4 separate regions of the Homo sapiens genome follow, and all the other regions are linked to region 1. The links are contacts of gene promoters, found by promoter capture Hi-C in blood cells and fetal thymus (Javierre and others, 2016). All regions are on one chromosome and are shown on one strand. Each heading gives the region's core, a stretch centred on a gene start or on the middle of the fragment in contact. The rest is flanking DNA. Distances are from core to core; before and after follow the strand shown.

Region 1 (5,642 bases), core at 1,323-3,822:
AGATAATAACCATGTTTCCCCCGATAGCCAAGGCCCCATTATCATTGCCCTTATTCATTTCTTTTCTACAGCCACCTGCAGCAGACCTATTTTCTAAGCTCTATAAAAGACAGTCAACTCGTAATTACATCTTTTCAGTGGACACAGAGAGAACCAGATAAACCACCCTCAAACCTCAGTAGACTGAATTACCTACCCTTCTACCAACACTTCGCAAAATGGCATAATGTGAATCTCACCTCCACCCTTTAAAGGAGTTAACAATAGCTACTGAAAAGGTCCCAAAAGATGGCAGAAAGAGCATATTAATGCAATTAAACAGACCAAAAACTAAATTCGAATCTGCCTACATGCTTCCTCTTTTTATACAGAAAGAAATATTGCTCAACAAAGTTACATATTTAAGTTTTGACAAAAGCTTCAAAAATACGGTTATCATATGCTTTTAATTCCTTAAATGTATGGTTTTTAATCTGTAGTAAGACCATTCGGGAAAACTGGAATAATTCTACAAATAAATGTAAGTAAGTCATGAGAGAAATCAGAATTCTCTTAGTTAAGTGCATTTTTTTAAAACATGGAAAACGAAATTCTTTAACTCTTAAAACAACCTGTCTTAACTAGCCCTAAGGTGATTCCTGAGCCACTTGTGGGTAAAAATCAGAAGAGAAAAAAGTTCAATGACCTTGCAAATTAGAAACTAAAAAACTAATGGTGTGATAGTCTGTACAGCCTCAGTGGAATTACAGGAAAACATCTGCCCGGAAATTGCTTTTTTTCTTTTGGAAAATTACTAGGAGGCTGGGGGAAAAGAGGGGAAAAACGGGTAAGGAAGGTTGCAAATGTTAAGATGCCAAACAGGAACCCAACCGAAGTCCGAAGTGAAATACAGCCTCCTCTGGCCCAACTGTCATGCAAACAACTTCTAAGCATCTTCAGATGTAAAGAAAAACAGTCATTGTGCACAGGCGTTAGCTGAATGTTCGAGAGTTGGATGAATGGGGAAGACTTGTTATACACCTAGTGGTGGGTGGATTTCACTAGGCTGCAGCCTCCACACAGCTTTTCTTTGCTGCACTGCAGAGGCGCCATCTTCTCCGTCTTAATCTTCACTCAATTCGATCCTTTTATCTGCACCCTAAAAAAAAGACCCTTCGGACCCTCCCCAGCATCCTGTGCCCCCAGGGGAACTAAACCAGAGTCCCCAGAGCTGCCAGGGAAGAGGCCGCGCCTTAATCAGACAAACGCCTCCTTGGATGCACAGGACAGAGCCCGTGCCTCCCCACCATCCGCCACTGCCCTTTCCAGACGCACATCCCACTCTCCGCCTTATTTCCTCCCCGCCAAGGACTTTACAGCCCAGCACAGAATTAAGCCTCGGAGGTGATCCGAGGGTGGGAAGCAGAGGGGCCCCGAGGCTCCGCCAGAAGCCCCGGCAGCGTCTCTGCCCCCTCCCAGGCGGACGCGCAGCCCCGGGAAGGGAGCCGGGCGGGAGCCTCGGTGGCGCACTGAGACTAACGCGGCTCGGCCCACGGCGAGGGCGGGGTGTCGCGGCTTTTGTTCCCGCGGACCTTCTGCCTCTCAGACAGAGCTTAGGGTGCGAGCGAACTCCCGGGACGTCCAGACTTGGGGAAGGCGCGGGGTGGCTATGGGTCTCCGACCCCTCCCATTTCTCGCAAGTTACACAAAAGGGAGACGCGGACATGCACAAAGTTTGCCTGTGGAAGGCGGTGCGCGACCCCGACGCCGGCTCGGGCTAGGGTCGCACCCAGGCTGCCGCCGCCAGCAGCCGCGAAAAGAGGTTGGAGCAAGGAAGGGGGATGGGGGTGAGAGAGGAAGGTGAAACGAGGCGGAGAACGCAGGGAAAAGCGAGGGGCTCCTAGCTTCCTGGGCTGTCCCGACTCCTCCTCCTCCTCCCCAGGGCCCAAGAGAAAGGAAAGGGCAACGATTCAAGAGCGAAGGACTGGCTTTAGGGACGCTGCGTTTTCGGTTTTCCCCACGTGCTCCTTCCCCCTTCCCCCCTGTCTGAATGTCTCTCGCCTCCCCCGACCCCCGCTTCCAAGGCAGGGACTAAGTCGGGGTCTGGGCTCAGGGTCGCCCCCTACCCTTCTCGCCCCGGGCTGGCGCGGAACCAGGGAGACCAGCGCCTCGCCCGCTCCCTCTCAGCGGGCCGGAGCGCGACTCCCTGGGGCAGGGCTGGGCCGAAAGCGGGGATGCGCTGGACGTCCGCAAGCGGGGGCGGAGAGGAGAGGGGTCCCATTGACGGACCCCCGGCTTCTCTGCATTAAAGACTTGGGTTAAGGTCTTGGGGGGTATCGCGTCCCCACCGTGCAGCCTCCCCCCGCCTTCCGAGGCGCGGCACCCACCTCCAGCGCCCGAGCCGTCCAGGCGGCCAGCAGGAGCAGTGCCAAACCGGGCAGCATCGCGACCCTGCGCGGGGCACCGAGTGCGCTGCTGTGCGAGTGGGATCCGCCGCGTCCTTGCTCTGCCCGCGCCGCCACCGCCGCCGTCTCCCGGGGCCCCCGCGCACGCTCCTCCGCGTGCTCTCGCCTACCGCTGCCGAGGAAACTGACGGAGCCCGAGCGCGGCGGCGGGGCTCAGAGCCAGGCGAGTCAGCTGATCCGGCCCACCCCGCTCGGCACCCGAGAGAGACCCCTAGCGGCGCCGCCGGGGAACTGCGCCCGCTCGCGCCGGGAGGGGCCCTCGCGCCCCGCGCCCACAGGTGCACGCGCCCTTGGCGCCGCCTGCACCCCACGCGCCCCCTCCGCTCCCCGGCCGACGGCCCACCTGGGCTTCGTGAACAGTGGGAGGGAGAGTCTGGGGCCAGGAGAGGGACGGTGCAGGATCAGGGAAAGGTGAGTCCTAGGACGCTGAGGCTCTAGAAAAGTCGAGAGCGCTCCTGCTCGTCCCCGTGAGCTTGAATCATCCGACCCCGCAGGCCTCCCGGGGGTGTCGTATAAAGGACTGCTGCTAGGGTGCGTTTTTATCCGCATTTCGTTTTTTCTCTCGGTTTGGAGAGGTGGGGCAGGCGTTTCTGGAAGAGAATGAGAACGAGTGAAGCTTAAAGGAAATAGGATTTTCTTTGCTTGTTGAGACAGCAAAACCTCATTTTTTAACCCCCAACGTCAAAAGCAGGCACGAGCAACCTGGAATTTCTATCTTTAGAACGAACCAAAGGAGCAAGGCGCAGGACCTGGCAAAGAAGCGGCCAACCCATTTACTTCTTCTTGAAAGCAGGGTTCTGGGCTTGGGTTTTGTTTCTTTCTTATATTTTTGTTTGTTTTTGGTTTTGTTTTGTTAAAGGGGGTGGTCAGTGTGGATTTTGCGGGGCGGGGGGTCTTTTTTTGTTGTTAAGCAGGGATGTAACATCCATCTGAGTTGGGGAAGAAGGAAAAATTAGGAGAGATCATTCGTATTCGACCCCCGTAAATGAGGACTTCTGACCTCAAACGCTGCCCTTGTTCTTCATTGTGTCTGTCCTGAATTATAGAAATGAACCTTCTGCCATGCCACTTTCTCCTGGATTAAACACAAACCGTCCACTGTCCAGTTAGTGTCCAGATAGTTTAGAATGCTCTAGAACTGCCCAGATATATCCCCTGCTCTTGACCTGAAGTAGCATTTAGTTACCAAGCCACAGCCCACTCCACACAGGGCTTGGAGCGAAGGACTGAAGCCAGGGAGTGCTCTGGCCCTTCTGAGGGCTGCACTGCAGCCTGCCTTCTCTCCCTTGCTCATTGCGCTGACAAGGGTGCCTAGGCCCGGGAAGGATGGCTCAGCCAGCGGGGTACAGACTTCCTTCCTGGGAAGTCATTTCTGTACCAGCTCCCCTAAATGTTGTCTTGTGTGTCTTTTCCCGCACTAGGCATTCAGTCTTGACTCTTGGATTACTTTTGCCCCTGAATGTCCTTTGGATGTCCTCAACAAATAAGGACAAATATTTATTGTCATGCAGTATTTGTTTATACGCTTCATGTCATTTACTTCCTACAAAAGCCAAAGAGGCTGTTACTATTATTCCTATTTATACATCAGGAAAATGAAGCTAATGAACTCCCAAATCTAATAGCAAGTAAGTGACATGAAGCTGGGACAGCAGGGAAAAGCCTAAAGTGACAGGACAAACCCAGTTGTTCACTTTCTGCACCACATTTACCCACCGCAATTCCGTATTTGTTCCGGGTCTGCATGAGCAAATAAGGCAAAAAAGAAGGTATCTGAATGCAAAGAGAAACGTGGTCCAAAGCTACAAATCTTGCAGAGTCCACTGCAAAATGCAAACGTGAGACCCTTTGTTACATTATTAAGAATTTTAAGGCCGGGCCTGGTGGCTCATGCCTGTAATCCCAGCACTTTAGGAGGCCCAGGTGGGCAGATCACCTGAGGTCAGGAGTTCTAGACCAGCCTGGCCAACATGGTGAAACCCCCATCTCTACTAAAAATGCAAAAATTAGCCGAGCGTGGTTACTCCTGCCTGTAATCCCAGCTACTCCAGAGGCTGAGGCAGGAGAATCGCTTGAACCTGGGAGGCGGAGGTTGCAGTGAGCCAAGATTGTGCCATTGCACTCCAGCCTGGGCGACAGAGCGAGACTCCACCTCAAAAAAAAGAAAAAAAATTAAATTAAGAATTTTAAGATGGCAATGGCAGAGCGTTAAACCAAGCATGGGGCTCCTCCCACCGCAGGGCCTGTGAGACTCTCCAGGGTTGCATGCCCATGAAGCCAGCCCTGGGAAGGAGGAGGCAACTTTAAGAGTGAGGGACTTTTCTTTGGGAGGCTGAGGCGGGCGGATCACGAGGTCAGGAGATCAACACCATCCTGGCTAACACGGTGAAACCCCGTCTCTACTAAAAATACAAAAAATTAGCCGGGCGTCGTGGCGGGCGCCTGTAGTCCCAGCTACTGGGGAGGCTGAGGCAGGAGAATGGCGTGAACCCGGGAGGCTGAGCTTGAAGTGAGCCGAGATCGCGCCACTGCACTCCAGCCTGGGCGACAGAGCGAGACTCCGTCTCAAAAAAAAAAAAAGAGAGTAAGGAACTTTTATTGAGCATGAAATTCAAAATTGTAGAGATGAGATCATAATCTATAAAAATTAAAGTTCTTAGATTTAGCAGTTTCTCTTTCCACTGTTGAAATTCACCACACTGACACATTCCCTGGTCAAGATGTTCCTGGGGGAAGATGATTATGCTGCTGATTGCGTCAGAATGATGGACATTGCCTGCATGTTCTCTGGTTCCTTCACTACTCAGAGATCCTGATGGCTTTTTGCTTTTCAGCCACTAGCTCTGTTCTGCATTTAATGCCATTTCCTGCCCTGAGGTGTCTTGCAGATCCTCCAAGCAGAAAACGCAGGAACATCCCTAGTTATAACCCTACAAAGTTGGGGAAGGAACCAACAACCACTTGTCTGCTGGAATTCCTACAACAGCATCCCCATCCTAGTTTCAAGTGTCTCCATTTGTGAGATATTCACTGGCTCTCCAGACTGTGCATTCTATCTTTGGGCATTTCTGGTTACTAGAATGTTCTTATCCCATTTAAAGCTCACATCCCCCGCCTTTAAACTCCCACTCAGATATCCTTGTATCCCCAGTGACCAAGCAGAATAATTCTTTTCCACACTTCAGATCTTTACAAATT
Region 2 (5,642 bases), core at 2,106-4,605, 230 kb before region 1:
AAAATAAAAACATAACCGCATTATGGGTTGAATTTTCCCCCAAAATATATGTTGAAGTCCTAATGCCTACACCTAAGAATACAGCCTTACTTGGAAACAGGGTCTTTGCAGATATAAGATGAGGTCACAATGGAGAAGGGTGGGCCCTTAATCATATTAGAGAAGACACAGAAACAGAGACATGGGGAGTAACACCATGTGAAGACAGAGGTGGAGATTGGAGGGGTGCATGTACCAACCAAAGGAATATCAAGGGCTGGCAGCAGCACTAGAGCAAGCGAAAGGCATGAAACAGATTCTCCCCTAGAGCTGTAAGAGGCAGTGTGGCCCTGGCAACACCTTGCTTTAGGACTTCTAACCTCTAGAATAATGAGATAATGAGAGTATATTTCTGTTGGTTTCGGCCATGCGGTTTGTGGTAACTGGTTCCAGCAGCCCTAGGAATCTAATACACTGCCCATGTAAGTGAATATTAGCTATTTGCTGATAAGACAAGAATTTCTGGTTATAATAAATATACTGGAATAGAATGTGGTTTCTTTTTTTTTGAGATGGAGTCTCGCTCCAGTCACCAGGCTGGAATGCAGTAGCGTGATCTCGGCTCACTGTAACCTCTTCCTCCCAGGTTCAAGCAATTCTCCTGCCTCAGCCTCCCGAGTAGCTGAGACTACAGGCGCCCGCAACCATCCCCGACTAATTTTTGTATTTTTAGTTGAGACGGGGTTTCACCATATTGGCCAGGCTGGTCTTGAACTCCTGACCTTGTGATCCATCTGCCTCGGTCTCCCAAAGTGTTGGGATTACAGGCGTGAGCCACAACACCCGGCCGAATGTGGTTTCTTAGTGAGTCCTTTACTCAAGGCTGGAATTAAACAAAGGAGATGAATCACGAGCTCTATGATAATAGTCTAATAGTCTAATCTAGCCCTCTTAAGTGCAGAGATGTTTTCCCTCTGAACACCCGTGTGTTTCAGCTCTGTTCCTCTTCCAATGCCCTTCCACAGGGAACAAATCCTTTCTTGACCACCAATGGCTGCATGACTTATCCTGAGAAGATCATGGGGATTTTGGATGCCAGGTCAACCCTTACACTCAGCAAGGAAGTGGAAGGGCCTCAGTTTCAAACACTTTGTAAACACAGAGGTTAGGTCATTTCCTCTCCAATAAGCCAGAAGCTGAGCTGTCCCTGGCAGCAAACTGTGTGTCAAATGCCTGGCGGGTTTCAGGTTTTACTAACTCCAGAGTGACGAAACATCACCACCTCTAATGCCAGAAAGAAGTCAGCTGTTGTACCTGTGTCACAACTAAATTTACTGAAGTCAGGGCAGCTGAAGTAATCTATAAAACTTAGCATGTCAATTTCAATTTAGCGTTCACATTCAACAAATTGTGTATTTAAAAAAAAATCTCCAGTAGTCTAAAAGTTTTCATTTTATTCTTGTGTAAAATCTGGAAGACTGGAATAGAATGTTTTATGGTATGAGTGTTTAGTAGCAACATTAGGTTAACTGTGACCTTTTGGCTCAAGACATGAGAAAATATAGCTAACAATGCTTGGTTATGGGTTTGTCACACTATACTTTGTTATACTATCCAGCAGTATCCACCTGCTTTAACAGTGTGGATACACTAAAAACTAATTTAAAAAAATCTGGGCTGGGCGCGGTGGCTCACACCTGTAATCCCAACACTTTGCGAGGCCGAGGCGAGTGGATTACAAGGTCAGGAATTCGAGACCAGCCCGATCAACATACTGAAACCCCGTCTCTACTAAAAATACAAAAATTAGCTGGGTGTGGTGGTGCGCGCCTATAATCCCAGCTACTCAGGAGGCTGAGGCAGGAGAATCATTTGAAACCGGGAGGCGGAGGCTGTAGTGAGCCGAGATCGTGCCACTGCATTCCAGCCTGGGCAACAGAGTGAGACTCTGTCTCAAAAAAAAAAAAAAAAAAAAAACCTGTCAAATCCCTCCATACAAGTGTATGCACTTCACATACCAAGGAGGTCTAGGATTTGAAGTTCATCAAGGCCGAGTTTAGGCTGCCAGACCACAACCTCGTTTTAATGCCTTAGGTGCAGAAACAGGAGAAATAATACCTTCCATGCCTCCCCTGACTAGCTTTAGGATAAAGAAGCTGTGCACTAAATAGACAGTAGCTGAGGAACGATGAAGAGGATCTACCCAAAGTATGAATAAGCCAACTGCTATGGATCGAACTGTGTGCCCCTGAAAATTCATGTATCAAAGCCCTAACCCTCAAGGGACCTTTGGAGATCAGACCTTTAAAGAGATAATTAAGGTTAAATGAGGTCATGGGGGTGTGACTCTGATCCAATAGGACAGGTGTCCTTATAAGAAAAGGAGGAGGCCGGGTGCGGGGCTCACGCCTGTAATCCCAGAACTTTGGGAGGGCAAGGCAGGTGGATCACCTGAGGTCGAGAGTTCGAGACCAGCCTGACCAACATGGAGAAACCCTGTCTCTACTAAAAATACAAAATTAGCCAGGCATGCCTGTAATCTCAGCTACTCGGGAGGCTGAGGCACGAGAATCGCTTGAACCCAGGAGGTGGAGGTTGCAGTGAGCCAAGATCGTGCCATTGCACTCCAGCCTGGGCAACAAGAGCGAAACTCTGTCTCAACAAAACAAAAGAAGAAGAGGAAGAGACACCTCTCTTTCTCTCTGAGAAAGACCATGTGAGGACATGATGCGTAGGTGGCCATTTGTAAATCAAGGAAGAGAGGCCTCCTCAGAAACCGACCTGCTGGTACCTTGATCTTGGACTTCCAGCCTCCAGAAGCATGAGAAAAATAATTTCTGTTGTTGAAGGATTCAGTCTGTGGTATTTTGGTATTTTGTTATGGCAGCCCTAGCAGACTAATGCATTTATCTAGTCACACTCAGACAAAAGAAAGAGCACAGGTCAGAATAGCTTTTTCTAGAGGATTCTGTTTTCTTTCTTTCTTCGGCTTCTTTTTCTTTTTTTCCTGAAGGCAATAGCTGAATCTGAGAGTAACAAGGGGCTCACCAGGGATGTGCAAGGAATTTCTTGTACTGCCCCTTTCATGGAAATGACAAGGAAGTGATTTATTTCAGATGTGACTCAGTTCAGGATTTGAAAGCACATGTGACAAATGGTCAAGTAAAGAAAAAGCTTTTCTTTTTCTTTACTTGACCATTTGCCACGCAAGTTCCCAAGTTCTTCCTCCCTATCTTGCTTCATTACAGGCAGTGGGAAAAATCCAAACAGCTTCCCCCTGTGTCTGGGACATCTCCAGCTCTGTGGTGTATTTACTTTGAAGGAACAAAAAAGGGGATAGTATATGACTTCCATCCCAAGTCACTATAGGATATACTTTAAGAAACAAGGGAGTTTAAATTGCTCTGCTGTATAACCTGCAAAATTCATCTCCTACTGCAGAATAGAGTGAGTTGCTTCTCAGGATTCGCACCTGGAGTTGGTATTCAGCACATGTTTTCTTTGTAACATTTCTGTCAATTCTCTAAAAAGACCACACTTTTTGAGCTGGCACTAGGCTCTCTGACAATCTTCCAAGACGAAGCTTTTACAGTCCATCATTTACAATGCTGACAACTCCAGGCACATTTTGTCAATTTTCCCTTTCATCTCTTATTAAAATAAAATAATATCACTTTGGATTTGAAGAGAGCCTAAATGGATAATTCTTTAAGCAGAATGTCAGTATCAATGATAGAAAGGGAAGAATCTAAGAGGGAGGTAAATGTTCTATAAGTAGAGAAGTAGGTTCACAATTTCTGAAACAGCAAATCAAACAGCAAATGGGGGAAAGTTATGAAAGGCAGAATTTTGTGACTCAAGCCCATCTTATGCTTATACAGTTTTTTGTTTTTGTTTGTTTTGAGATAAGGTCGTCCCTCTGTCACCCAGCCTGGAGTGTAGTGGTGCCGCCAGGCCTCACTGCAACCTCCAACTCCTGGGCTCAAGTGATCCTCCAACCACAGCCTCCTGACTAGCTGGGATTACAGGTGTGTACCCCTAAACCCAGCTTATTATTTTTTTGACTTTTTGTAGAAACAGGGTCTCCCCATGTTGCCCAGGCTGGTCTTAAACTCCTGGGCTCAAATGATCCTCCTGCCTCAGCCTCCCATAGGGCTAGGATTACAGGTGTGAGCCACCATGCCTGGCCTTTTATACTGTTTATTCCCTTTAGATACAGTTAATGGACATTAATAAGCAGTTTATGCCAATCCCTTTTCATAGCTAATAAGAAGTCTTATCTTGGATAAATAAAACCTAGCCACTAATGCTGCCACACCCAAATAAACTCTCTATGCATCTGAACTTCTTGAGGTTAATAATGCTTCATTGTAATATTTTATAAAATCACCACTTTGGAAGTGAACACCACTAGAAATTCACATGGCCAGTTTATAGATGGGGACTGGGGGAAGCAGGGAGGATCTCTGCAATCCAGTAGTTAGGCTCTGCCAGAATGTATTTAGAGTTGTCTCTAAATACATTCTGAGTCTCTGCTTCATTTTTTTTTTCAATGAAAATGACAATGTCTGTCATCCCATGTTCAAGACAAATATAACAAGTTTCTAAGAATCCTTATATTTTTGTTATTGCATATAAGCATGAGTTTTAAAAACCTCTGAATGTTTAAAGGATCACCTGGGGGAATAAGAAAAATGCAGATCTCTGTAGGTCTGAGGTAGAGCCCAAGAATCTGTATTTTTAACTAGAATTCCTCTAAATTACTGTGCTTCACTTGGCCCCAATTACACATTAGGAGACAATGATTTCAGGATGACAATCAGCCTTTTCCATCCAAGGACTTAAAGCAGCTAAACCGAAGACACCGACAAATACCAGATACTTTTCTCAGTCTACTGGCTGATGGCACAAAAGTGCAGAAGTCACGTAGGGCAGTATGGAAAGCTCGAGCTAGGACTGGAGTCAGCGAGAGACGCTAGCTTCCCCTGTTCGTGGATTCCGAAGCCTCAAGCCCACATTAACAAGGCCTTAGACGACAGTAAACACCCAGACTCAGGCTCCTACAGAGGGCCCCCAGTTCTGCTCTAATATACCTATTTTTCTTTAAATAAAAAACATCTGATTTTTGCACCCCAGGTATTTAAAGACACACTTTGATTTCTGAAAGGCTTTTGACCACACATGAGGAACTCCTTGGGCCTTGACCATTTTTAGCACTTTCACAGTTTCTGATTTTGATCAAGCCACTTAATCACCCAGGATTCTGAATCTGAAAACCAGGAGGGTTTAATTCCACTTTCATGTTCCCTTGAGGAGCTGTTGGCAGCAGGATGAAGGCAGGTCCATACAGAACATGGGAAGGAAGCCAGGAAGCCAGCTTTTCCTTTCACATCAAAGAGATCTAGAAAGCAAAACCTGTCTCACATTTGCATACAATATTAGACTTACATATGGATGCCATGTCTGTCAAAAGACAGGCTAATTAGGGCATTAGTTTCTTTAATGGTTGCGATTTAGTAATTCACAAATAGTCCCACTTAATTTTTCATCCTATACCTAAAGGATCTACTTCACACTTGAAGTTTAAGAAGGCTTCTCCCTTAAGATAGAAAGAAGGCATTCAAGTATCAAAATACTGGTTTCCTGCCAAAAAATAAGGGATG
Region 3 (5,642 bases), core at 1,724-4,223, 210 kb before region 1:
ACAGTTATGGGCATTTTGGCAGCTGACAGAGACTCATGTGGTATTTTATTCTCTTTCCAAGAGAAACAGAAATGAGAGATCTTAAATGAAATCATTAGTCATTAGGAAAACTAGGGACATAAAAGACAGTGGGCACACAAGGTCAGTTTCCTGGTTTTGATAATGGACTATAGTTACGTAAGATGTCACTGGTGAGGCATGTGGGTGATGGATGCATGAGACCTCTCTGTACTATTTTTCCAAGTTCTTGTGAGAGTACAATTATTTCAGAATATAAGTTTAATAGCCCACTATCTTTTAAGTTTAAACAATGATGTGGTTCAGAGAACACTCATGGCTTCCCTGCTCAGCCATCAAAGAGAATTGTGACTTACTGAATATAACAATAACCTCAAAGTCACAAGTCACAGTTATGTGTTTTGGCTGTGCTACTTATAATGCATGTGACACAGGCCAGTAAGTTACTCAAATTTTAAGTTTGAGCTTTTTCATTTGTAAGATGGAACAATCGTGACACTCAAAAGATGAAGAATGAGTTTTTTTCCCCATTAATTGTAAAGTACCAAAGCATCATAATTTGAGAGCCATAACAAGATTGGGCAAATTAGAAAAAATGCTGCCACGTATAATTCAATAACAAGTGTCCAATTATTACAAAACTATACCCTAAGTCAGGCGACATTCCTCCAGTCTTACAAGTATGGAGAGGTAAGAACTGATTCAATTGCTAAGGCTAGTAAGCTAGTTCCAGCCTGACAGTTTCATCGTAAAAGGCAAGCTGTTCTATTAACTTCCATATTCCTCAAACAGATAACTCACTTCCTCAATTTTCCTCTGGGGGAAAATACATGTCCATGTGCAGCATCAAAAGAACAGCTTACTTACCAACTTCATCCTGAATCTCCTCGGCCACTGCAGGCACGTTGTAGAGCAGGGAGAGAGACTGATTCATGCGCTCATAAATCACACGGAGGTGTGTCATAACCTGCATCAAAGGATGACAACTCCAGGTCAACAATGTCTGGGGGTAGGAATGGTTCTTTTTCTTTCTTTTTTTCTTTTTTTTTTGAGACGGAGTCTCGCTCTGTCGCCCAGGTTATTTTTCTTACCAAGCACTGCAGGTAGATACAAACTTCCAAAAGAAAACTGACAAAACACTGCTACTGTTAAAAAGGTTGAACTGAAAGGGCAACTTTATTTTTCTTGTTCTCCTATTTCTGTTCTCTAACTTTTTGAGCTCAGGTTTAAGACTTGATCTTGAAACTTACCATTATCTTGTATGCTTATAACAGCCAATTAAAAAGGCTACCTCTGCCACCTCTGATTCCTAATACTGAGGCTCTCTTAACAGGACCCTCATGCCTAAATACATTTCTTTGCAAATTTCCCCCTAGAAAACAACGTATTTCAATTTGATTGGCTATTTCATGCTATATATATTTAACTCTTTCATTCAAGAAAATGTAAAATTTCACATTTCCTAAGGTAGATCCCAGTTTTCAGCCTTTGGGAACCGGGGAGTATAAAATACATTATTACTGGGCTTCATTTAGGCTCACATGAAATCTCAACATTCCAGTAGGTTTATGATTGCCTGCCATACTTCAGTTGAACCAGTTTTCAAGATTTTAGTTTATACAACTTTTGTTTTTCTCATTTTAGTCATTGGTTTTAATCAGTTCCTTAGCAATCAGTTAGCAGTAGACTAAGATTTTTACATTTGTTATTTTCATAACTCAGAAAATGCCAAACCACATATTGCTCTAAGACAAGCTTTTAGAATTTACCAGAAGTTAAAGAGCTCTTGCCATAGGGAAAACACCTATAGGTGCTCGGAGAATGCGTGGGATCCTGTCACCAACCCAAGAAGCAAGAATCCTGGATTGTCAAAGCTGCAGAAGATGATTATACCCCACGCTTACCTGGGACCGGATCTGAGCGGCTTTCTTGGGATCCACCATGCGCACATGCTCGAAATGCTTTAGGGTGTGCTGTCTGTCCTTCTGTTCTGCGCGGACATACTTCTTTAGCATATTGAACACGTGACGAGGCTGTGGGAGGAAAATGAAAAACTCTTTTTCAAGTTTGTGCAAAACACTGCTTCTTCCATTGGCGATGGGTTAGAGGTTCCACTAATGCATCCGGTCATGTGAACGTACTGTGAGTCACCTTTTTGCAGGTCTGCCTTCTAAACATTTCTCCTACTCCTTTCTTAATGGGTAATTACTTAGATCGGCTGCTTTTCACTTCCACAAGAGCATTTAACATTCTCGACATATATGATGACTGTCCTCCTTACTCAACATTTTCTTTTTAAATAGGAGTACTCTGCTATAGAAAGAGAACAGATTTGAGGTCTGTCAGGTTAAGTTAGGTCCTTCTCTTTTCGCACCCAAGGGGCATATGTGAGACTACATTGCTACGTGTACATTTTGAAGACCAGAGGTAATGTCACACAGATAATCCCATCACCAGTAACATGTAACATACGAAATCAAAATGAGAAAAACAGGAAATTTAACCACTATTTTGTAAGCCAAGGAGTAACTGAACTGTAAGAGACATTATATTTTTCTAGGAGAAAGGCCATTGCTAAACTGTATTTATTTTACTCTGAAATTTAATTAAGTTCTTTCTAAGCTATCAGATTCTAATTCTTTCAGCAACAATTACATTTCGTCTTAAGTGCTCCTATTTTCTTTCTAATTGGTTCCATTTCATTTTTATTTTAGTTTTACCTGAAAACATCCATCCTAATAAAAACTAAGGACAAAGATTCCCTGGTCTTCAACAATTTCATCACTATATGCATTCCACTACATGATTTTGTAAGATGATTTCCAAAAACACAACATTTCTTCTTCATTAAAACAAACAAACAAAAAAACCAGTTGTGAAAATTCATGTTGGGAATAGAATTTTGGTCATTTGGGCAAACCTAGCTATTATTAACCCATGTGTCATGAGTACCCTGAAAACCAGTTGGAAGGTACAAAATTTATTCCAGAGATGGTGTGTGTGGTGGTGGGGCGGGTGGTAATGGAGCTTTTGTTGTGTTATCCATATCCTATGGGATGTGCCTCTCCTTCCCCTTTTGCTTAGTTAACTTAGGAGCCATCTCCCTGCCATCTCAGGTGGAACGAGGTACCCTTTTTCTGTGCTCCTATGAAATACTGTGCAAATCCCCATTAATGTACCTAACTCATTAAATTATCTATGATTCTTACTCCCCTCTTTAATGTGAGATCCACAGGGCTGGATTTGGTCTTTTTTCTTTATTTGGAACCCCAATAACACAGTGCTTGACCCAGAGGGTGCTCTGTATTTGCTTGGTGAATGCCTGCCACAGAGGCCATGCTACTGTACTTGAGAAAACAAATACATATACACAATAAAAATAAAACAACTTGGGCTCATCTGCCTTCTTTTTTCCTAAAAGAAATGTGCTTCTCTATAATCCCCAGAAAGACAGCCATCACAGCTTGCAACAGTTCTTGGCAACTTATTACAACTCTCATCTGAACTGTGAAATCTGGTTGAATTTACAAATCAGAGGATGACCTTTTAAATCTCAGAAGAAAAGTAGTAAAAGAGGTAATGACTGATAAGCTATATCTCTATATATTGAAAAGAGGATAGGTTATACATGTGAATTAAAAAAAAAGAACATTTGAAAACATCAGAGATTAAAGGCTGACTCTTGTTGATTGTGAAGGATATTTGATATGCAGAGTTGTGTGATCAGGATCTTGCACAACCACCCTCGATGCTTGCTTGTTATTAAGCACCAAGGTCTTAGAAATCTCTCTAGTTCTGTTACCATTATTCATCCAAGACTGGAGACAGAAGGGGCTGTGACTAATCGCATTTAACCATGATGTTCCTTCCTGGCCTTCATGGATGCTTTCTTAGTTGCTCTATTTCATTTTTCTCCCTTGTAAAGGATTTATTGTTTTGAAGAAAATGGGATGAATTTTTAAGAGTTTAAATAAGAAAAAAAAAAAGCACTTCAATTAAAAAAGTAAGGATTGCTTTGGGAGTCTGAGGCAGGAGGATCACTTGCAGCCAAGAGTTTGAGACCAGCCTGGACAACATTACAAGAACCTGTCTCTACAAGAAAATTTTAAAAATTAGCTAGGTGCAGTGACACATGCCTGCAGTTCCAGCTACTTGGGAAGCTTGGTCAGGAGGATTATTTGAACCCAGGAGGTTGAGGCTGTAGTGAGCCCTGATTGCACGACTGTACTCAAGCCTGGGAAAGAGAATAACTGCCTGTCTTTTAATTAAAAAAAACAAAAAACAAAAAACAAAAACAGTAAGAATTGCTTTTCATCATAACTTCTTTTTTTCCAGTTAGTCATCTATGAATGTTTTTGTAAGATATTTTGTCCTAAAAGGACTGTCACCAACAAGCAGGTACACCAGGATGCCATGGCCCCAGGCTGGCCTTGGCATTACTACTTCAAGCTAAATTTCAATTTAGAGAAGATGCAGGTCATTTCTGATGACCAACATCTGGATCTCCCCTTTTCTTCTCCTATCACAACAAACAGCATATATTCCCACTAATTATTATTATTATTATTCTTTGAGATGGAATCTCGCCCTGTCTCCCAGGCTGGAGTGCAGTGGCGTGATCTTGGCTCACTGCAACCTCCGCCTCCTGGGTTCAAGTGATTCTCCTGCCTCAGTCTCCTGAGTAGCTGGGACTACAGGCACGTGCCACCATGCTCAGCTAATTTTTTTGTATTTTTAGTAGAGACGGGGTTTCGCCATGTTAGCCAGGATGGTCTCCATCTCCTGACCTCGTGATCTGCCCGCCTTGGCCTCCCAAAGTGCTAGGATTACAGGCGTGCGACCAGTGCACGGCCAATTAATTATTCATGTTAACATACATTTAAAAATAAGCACAAAAGCCTTGACTTTTCCCACCTATGCAATTCAGATGGCAGTATCTTTCAGATAGTATTTGCAGATTAAATGTGTTCAGTGATAGTTACCCAGAATGATGCGTAGTCCATTGCTGATACTCAATACACATTTATTTCTTTCACTCAGGCCTTATCTATAAATCATCGACCCCTTTCTTTCCTCTAAGTAATAAGAGTTCAATGTGTATTGACTGCTTCTGAATGAGACAGTATATTAAATGCTTTTTGCTGGTAACTCATCAAATCTTCGTCTCAGCCCTATGACAGAGTCATAGCAGCTCTCCCCACCTTATTGGTGAGGCATGAAGCACAAAGGAGATTGTGGTTACATAGGCTACATCCCTGGCCCAATGGTTACACAGCTAGTTAGTGTTAGATTTGAAGAATGGGTTAGTCTCACTGTCTTGGCTCCAGAGCCTCCTTCTCCTAATCACTTTGTGATCTGGCCCTTCAAGGAGAATCTAAAATAGACCAAGTTTAAGATAGTTCTACAAAGCAACTTACGAAGTTAAAAACAGGCCAGGCGCCGTGGCTCACGCCTGTAATCCCAGCACTTTGGGAGGCCGAGGCGGGCAGGTCACGAGGTCAGGAGTTCCAGACCAGCCTGGCCAACATGGTGAAACCCCATCTCTACTAAAAATACAAAAATTAGCAAGGCATGGTGGTGGGCGCCTGTAGTCCCAGCTACTCGGGAGGCTGAGGCAGGAGAAT
Region 4 (5,642 bases), core at 2,262-4,761, 190 kb before region 1:
GGAAAATGATACCAGCTGGATCTGCGCAAAGAGTTTACAGCACCCAAAATGATGACTTCATGGGTAAACATGTTGTTTTTTTTTTAAATTTACAACTCATTAAAAAATAACTGTTTAAAGAAAAACATCAACAATGTAGTAAGGAAAAAGTATGACAACAACCGCTTACAGAGAGAGAGAGAGATGAAAAATGGAAGTACTTTTGTAAAGTACTGTCTGTGGAGTGGTATAATATCATTTGAACTGACATAACATCATCGTGACAAGTTTAGAATGTTTTCTATAAGCCTAAAGCAACCAGTAAAATAACAAACTAGTTATAACTTATAAACCCACAAAGGAGATAAACCAGTAAAATAACAAACTAGTTGTAACTTACAAACCAACAAAAGAGATAAAATAGAATCATAAAAAATTTCTAATTAATCCAAAAAAAAAAGAGGAAAAAAGAAGAACAAGGAACAGACTGGACAAATAGCAAACAAATATCAAGATGACAGATTCAGTGACAACCATATCCATAACCTCATTCAGTGTACATGGTCTTCCCAATCCAAAGGAAAACGCAAGACCCAATTACATGCTGCCTACAAAAAATACACTTCAAATATAAAGACAAACAAGGTCAATAAGAGTATAAGGATGGAAAAATGCACCACATTAATATTAATCAAAAGAAAGCTGGAATAGCTTTATTAATATTAAAGTAGATTTTGGAGCAAAACATTACAAAGGATAAAAAGATCATTTCATAAGAAGAGGCTCAAGGAGGGCCTAACAGCCTGGAACATTTACACGCCTAAAAACACAGCCTCAAACTATACAAAATAAAAACTGATAGCACTGTTTAGAAAAATGGCCCGGTCCACAATCACAGGCAGAGCTTTCAATATCCCTTGCTCAATGACAAACAGAAAGAACAAATGGCTGGGCATGGTGGTTCACGCCTGTAATCCCAGCACTGTGGGAGGCCGAGGTGGGTGGATCACCTGAGGTCAGGAGTTCGAGATCAGCCTGGCCAACATGTTGAAACCCTGTCTCTACTAAAATACAAAAATTAGCTGGGTGTCGTGGCTCACCTGTAATCCTAGGTACTTGGGAGGCTGAGGCATGAGAATTGCTTAAACCCAGGAGACAGAAGTTGCAGTGAGCTGAGATTGCACCACTGCACTCCAGCCTGGGTGACAGAGTGAGACTCCATCTCATTTAAAAAAAAAAAAAAAAAAAAAGAACAAGTGGACATAAGTTACACACTCATGCTCAGAAAGTTCCTTCCATTCCAAGTAAGCTCTCCCACAGAATGCCGGTGAACACATCTATGCCTGTACCACTCAACATGCCTTTTTGGGGCAATGATCACTGAAAACCATGAATAAGTCTCATCATTGCTAATGTCATGACTGACAAATGCTTCCCCACAGAGAATATGGCCACTGCTCTGAGATGGAAATTTGAGTTCTAATTCTTTCTGGTCCACTAAAAATTCTTACAACTCAGCCAAATCTCAACTTTCCTTGACCTTAGTTATATTATTATACTTACATGATGAGGGGGCTGGGCAAGGTTACTTCTAAAATCCTTTGCCATGGTCTGAATGTTTGTGTCTCTCCCACCCCCAATTCATATGTTGAAACCTAAGCCACAGTGTGATGCTATTTGAGGGTGAAAGCTTTGGGAGACAATTAGGCATGAGGGCAGAGCCTTCAAGATTGACATTAGTACCCTTATAAAAGAGGGCCCAGAGAGCTCTCTTGCCCATTCCACCATATGAGGATACAGCAAAATACAAACAAAAACAAAAATAAAATAAATAAAAGATAAACAAAATTTAAGTTCTATGAACCAGGAAGCAAACTTTCACCAGACAACCAAGTATGCTGATGTCTTGATCTTGGACTTCTCAGCCTCTGCAACTGTGAGAAATAAACTTCTGTTGCTGATAAGGTACCCAGTCTATGGTATTCTGTTACAGCAGCCTGAAGGGACTGGAAGACATCCTTCCAGCTTTTGTGTTCGAACTTGAACTATGCCATCAATTGTCACCACCTCAGGAATATTAAATCAAGTCAGGGCTTGCAATGTGAGTCCCTGGGAGTCCTGTCTGGCTGCTCTGTGGGGAAGTGTGAGTACCTGCTGTGTAGAGATGACCTTGTGGAGGTAGCTGCCCTGTGACCCTTTGACCTTCAAGATGGAATGGACAGGGGTTGAACCTCTGAATAACAGTGCTCAAGGCATTTCTCCTCATTCTTTTTGTATGGCTTCCAGTTCCCAGTGCCCCACCCTTACTGTCTGTGCTGTGACCTGAAGTGTGAACTCGGCTGCAGCGAGACCTACCCGAGGAGGAACAGCCTGCAGAGCGGTGATGTAGTTCTCCAGGGCCAGGCGGCGGCGGTCATTGAGCATGGCTTCCACTCTGGCCATGTGTGTCTCCACCAGCTGCTGTCTCTCGTTGGCTGCTTCCTGTTCCAAAGATTCCACTTTCTCCTGGAAATGCTGCCATCATAAACACATATGTCCATGGGGACTGAATAAGTAGGATGAAGCAGCAATTTCAAGTCTTCTAAAAAAGACATCCTATTCCATTTTCTTCTAGTGCTAAAAAGTATCCTAAAGACTGCATAGTCATTCCAACATTGACTAATTCTACGTTTTATAGCTTACTTCACTTTCTTGCACTCTCCAACCCTCATCAAACCTACTTTCTCATTGAAAATCAGTATTTCATAGGCTCTCTGAAGGCTGATTTGACTAATAACTTTGGATAAATATATGCACTCTTGAAACTCTTATATTACATATTAAAAAAAAATCCCTCTCTTACTAACAGTACCTCAAGTAATTGACCATAATAAACTGTTGGTTTACTTAAGGTAATTTTGAGACTGGTTTCCATCAAAAATTCAAATTCTCATAATTTTTGCTGGAGGGAGAAGCAGCAGAAGATTGTGGTGACTGAAAAGATGTATTATTAATAAAAAGTAGATTGCAAGTTACAATGTGAGTTTTATGGCAATGAATTATAACTTGAAATAATTGGGAGCAAATATAAGGCAGGATTTAAACAACTCAATTACTAGACAATGATTAAGAACAGCTGAAGTTCATGGGACTATGAACAATCACACGTGAGGTGCTGGCAGATAAAGGTAAACCTGCAGACACTCATTAAAAAGACTGCTGGCATGTGATGTTTGGTAGGAAATGGGTTCAGGTTTTACCTGGATAACTGCCTTCTTATCAGCTTTAGGCAAGTTCTTTGCTTGACGTTCTGCCTCTTCCCATTCTCTCATGACCTATAAATTAAGGAAACATTTGAATTTAAAATCATCAGTTCATCCTTTGAATACAGACTTAATAGGATGGATGATTATGTTTTTCCTCTATTTTTGTCATTTTAGATATTTAAAAAATTTATTACATACCCCTTCCTATCTGAAGAATATTTGACCTCCCACTAGGATATAAATAATTAATCACAGCAGTATATTAAACATAAATGTTCATATTTATTGCAGGAATATAGCTTTTTGAGTCAAGGTTGGTCTTTTTTTACCCCGAGAACTGACAGTCATTTGATTTGATGTGAACAAATACCAACTATTCATGGAAGGCACACATTAACTGAACAAGGTCTTCCAATATTAAACTGAACACCTAAGTTTTACTCTCTTATGAAAGCAACTGAAACCATTTTAAACTGTATATTTTGACTTTAAAGAAAATATGACATTTTATGTGTGTGTGTGTCATGAATACAATGCCAAAAAGCAGTACATAATGGGGGAAGAAAAAGAAGACTTCTGCTGTCTAATATCCTAAGACCTATCCCCCTTTAAAGAACTGATGGGGAATTAAGGCCCTTTGAGCTTGCCAACCTAAGTCATGAACAGCAAGGATTACGCTAAGTCCTTCCAAAAACTCCAAGAAAACATGTAATATTCTGAATGCAGCAAACATGTATTTTTTTACAAGTAGCACTAATTTAGTAACCAACTGCTATGGTTTGAATGTAACCCCTAAAAAGCATGTGTTGGAAACTTAATCCCCAGTGCAACAATGTTGAGGGGTAAGTCCTGTAAGAGGTGATTCAGTCTCTGTCCTCATGAGTAAATTAGTATCATTATGGGGGGAGTGGGTTTGTTATTGTGAGAAGTGGGTTGTTATAAAACTCAGTTTTGCCCTCCTCTTGCCCTTCTTCCTTCCACCATATATGATACAGCAAGGAAGTCCTCAACAGATGCCAGCACCATGTTCTTGGACTTCCCCACCTGCAAAACTGAGAGCCGAATTTTAAACTTCTTTTTCTTTACAGATTATCCAGGCTGGGGTATTCTATTATAGCAACACAAACTGACTAAGATATCAGGTGAATGTGTTTTGTAGGAAATCAATGCTTCCTGCTCTCAACTTTGATGTTCACCTGGATTTCCCTGAGAGAAGTTCACTCATTAACCTGATACAAAAAGTAAAAGTCTGCACCTCTGTATGTTGTTCAAAGAAAATATTAACTTCCTACCACCTACAGCTGCCTTTTCAAGTGTATGACAAGTAGAATTTGTTTGAAGTGCAACTCTGAACTAGGTAAAATGAAGAAAGATCAAGGAAACAAAATATTGGTTTGGTGCCAGATGTGTACTTGCATACTCTGTGTACTCCCAAAGCATGAGAAAACTTGATTACTGTATTATAAGAGCCTGTTTTTTGTAGGTACTTAGCCTTAAGGAATAGACTCTTCTAACATACTTCAAGATGGGAAAGAAAAAGAGGCTTGGAATAAATAACTATAGATAGAAGACTTCTATGAGACAATACTATATCAAATCACCATGTGGGTTCCTAATTACAGATTTTATTGTCCATTGGCATTCATTCTTTGTATATGATAGGCAATTAGCTTCTTCTTGTTGTTTTTGTAAAACCATGGAGGAAACAAGATGGAATAAATATTTCATTACACTTGAAAAGCATATCAAAAATAATCTCAAGGTTCACAGCAAAATTGGGACAAATGCCCTGCTGCAATGAACAAGAATAGAACATGGAAGAAAAGAAACATATTGTCCCATCTGCTTTGGTGCTTCTACCAAGTTAATAAAGGGAACCTGTGGGCAAGGGGGAAATGGAAGACCATCTTTGCTTTATAGATGAGATAAGCCTTGCAATATAAATATTTCAATTTCCTGCTTTGGGAATGTTCACAGTGGTGGTACTCTACCAACAATTCTTCAAGCAAGGAATCTCAAAATTAGTTTGAGATAGAAGTTCAATGTTCTACTGCAATGTGAGAACTGATTTCCCATATTACATTTACATTTTTTCCATTTTACCTCATACACTTTAAGAAACTGGACTTTAAGCTTTAAGCTGGGGGAATCCATGAAATAATTAAAGAGATTTATTTAGCTAATGAGTTGCAAATAAGCATTACTATAGAAATTAACTCACATTTTGATTTTCAGAACAATTTAACAATATCCTATACCCCCACAAATAAACAAATCACCTGCACCATCCCACTAAGACTCTACTGCAAATGAATACACACTATATGTAGGCTGACCATCTCCCTGTGAACAGTGAATTTCACTGTGGGACTGATAACAAGTAGCATTACTGCTGACCCTGTATTAAGAGCTTTACAA

What was found. The method cuts DNA at HindIII sites, captures the fragments that hold promoters and counts their contacts. A CHiCAGO score of 5 or more calls a contact.
Region 2: a fragment that was not itself captured here is called in contact with the fragment with the promoter of APP in region 1 in 11 of 17 cell types (megakaryocytes, endothelial precursors, naive CD4 T cells and 8 more); the score reaches 12.3 in megakaryocytes.
Region 3: a fragment that was not itself captured here is called in contact with the fragment with the promoter of APP in region 1 in 9 of 17 cell types (endothelial precursors, M0 macrophages, megakaryocytes and 6 more); the score reaches 7.8 in endothelial precursors.
Region 4: a contact is called between a fragment that was not itself captured here and the fragment with the promoter of APP in region 1, in 13 of 17 cell types (endothelial precursors, naive CD4 T cells, fetal thymus and 10 more). The highest score is 9.6, in endothelial precursors.

Annotation. Positions count from the first base shown.
Region 1 is chr21:26,168,198-26,173,839 of GRCh38, forward strand. APP (amyloid beta precursor protein) reads right to left here and starts at 2,573. Exons shown (of 18, transcript NM_000484.4): 1 at 2,367-2,573. The coding sequence starts at 2,423. It overlaps APP-DT (APP divergent transcript), which reads left to right and starts at 2,670. Exons shown (of 4, transcript NR_186396.1): 1 at 2,670-2,855. RefSeq lists enhancers at 1,076-1,285, 1,784-2,308 and silencers at 1,326-1,595, 2,096-2,925. The HindIII fragment of the contact is 2,642 bases long and covers 417-3,058 here.
Region 2 is chr21:25,933,906-25,939,547 of GRCh38, forward strand. All of the region lies in intron 13 of APP (amyloid beta precursor protein), which reads right to left. Among named protein-coding and RNA genes, the nearest start is that of GABPA, 200 kb to the left of the region's middle. The HindIII fragment of the contact is 409 bases long and covers 3,152-3,560 here.
Region 3 is chr21:25,953,705-25,959,346 of GRCh38, forward strand. It overlaps APP (amyloid beta precursor protein), which reads right to left. Exons shown (of 18, transcript NM_000484.4): 12 at 1,923-2,051; 13 at 886-985. Among named protein-coding and RNA genes, the nearest start is that of APP, 210 kb to the right of the region's middle. RefSeq lists an enhancer at 960-2,159. The HindIII fragment of the contact is 2,405 bases long and covers 1,772-4,176 here.
Region 4 is chr21:25,972,736-25,978,377 of GRCh38, forward strand. APP (amyloid beta precursor protein) reads right to left here. Exons shown (of 18, transcript NM_000484.4): 10 at 3,219-3,293; 11 at 2,335-2,493. Among named protein-coding and RNA genes, the nearest start is that of APP, 200 kb to the right of the region's middle. The HindIII fragment of the contact is 3,688 bases long and covers 1,668-5,355 here.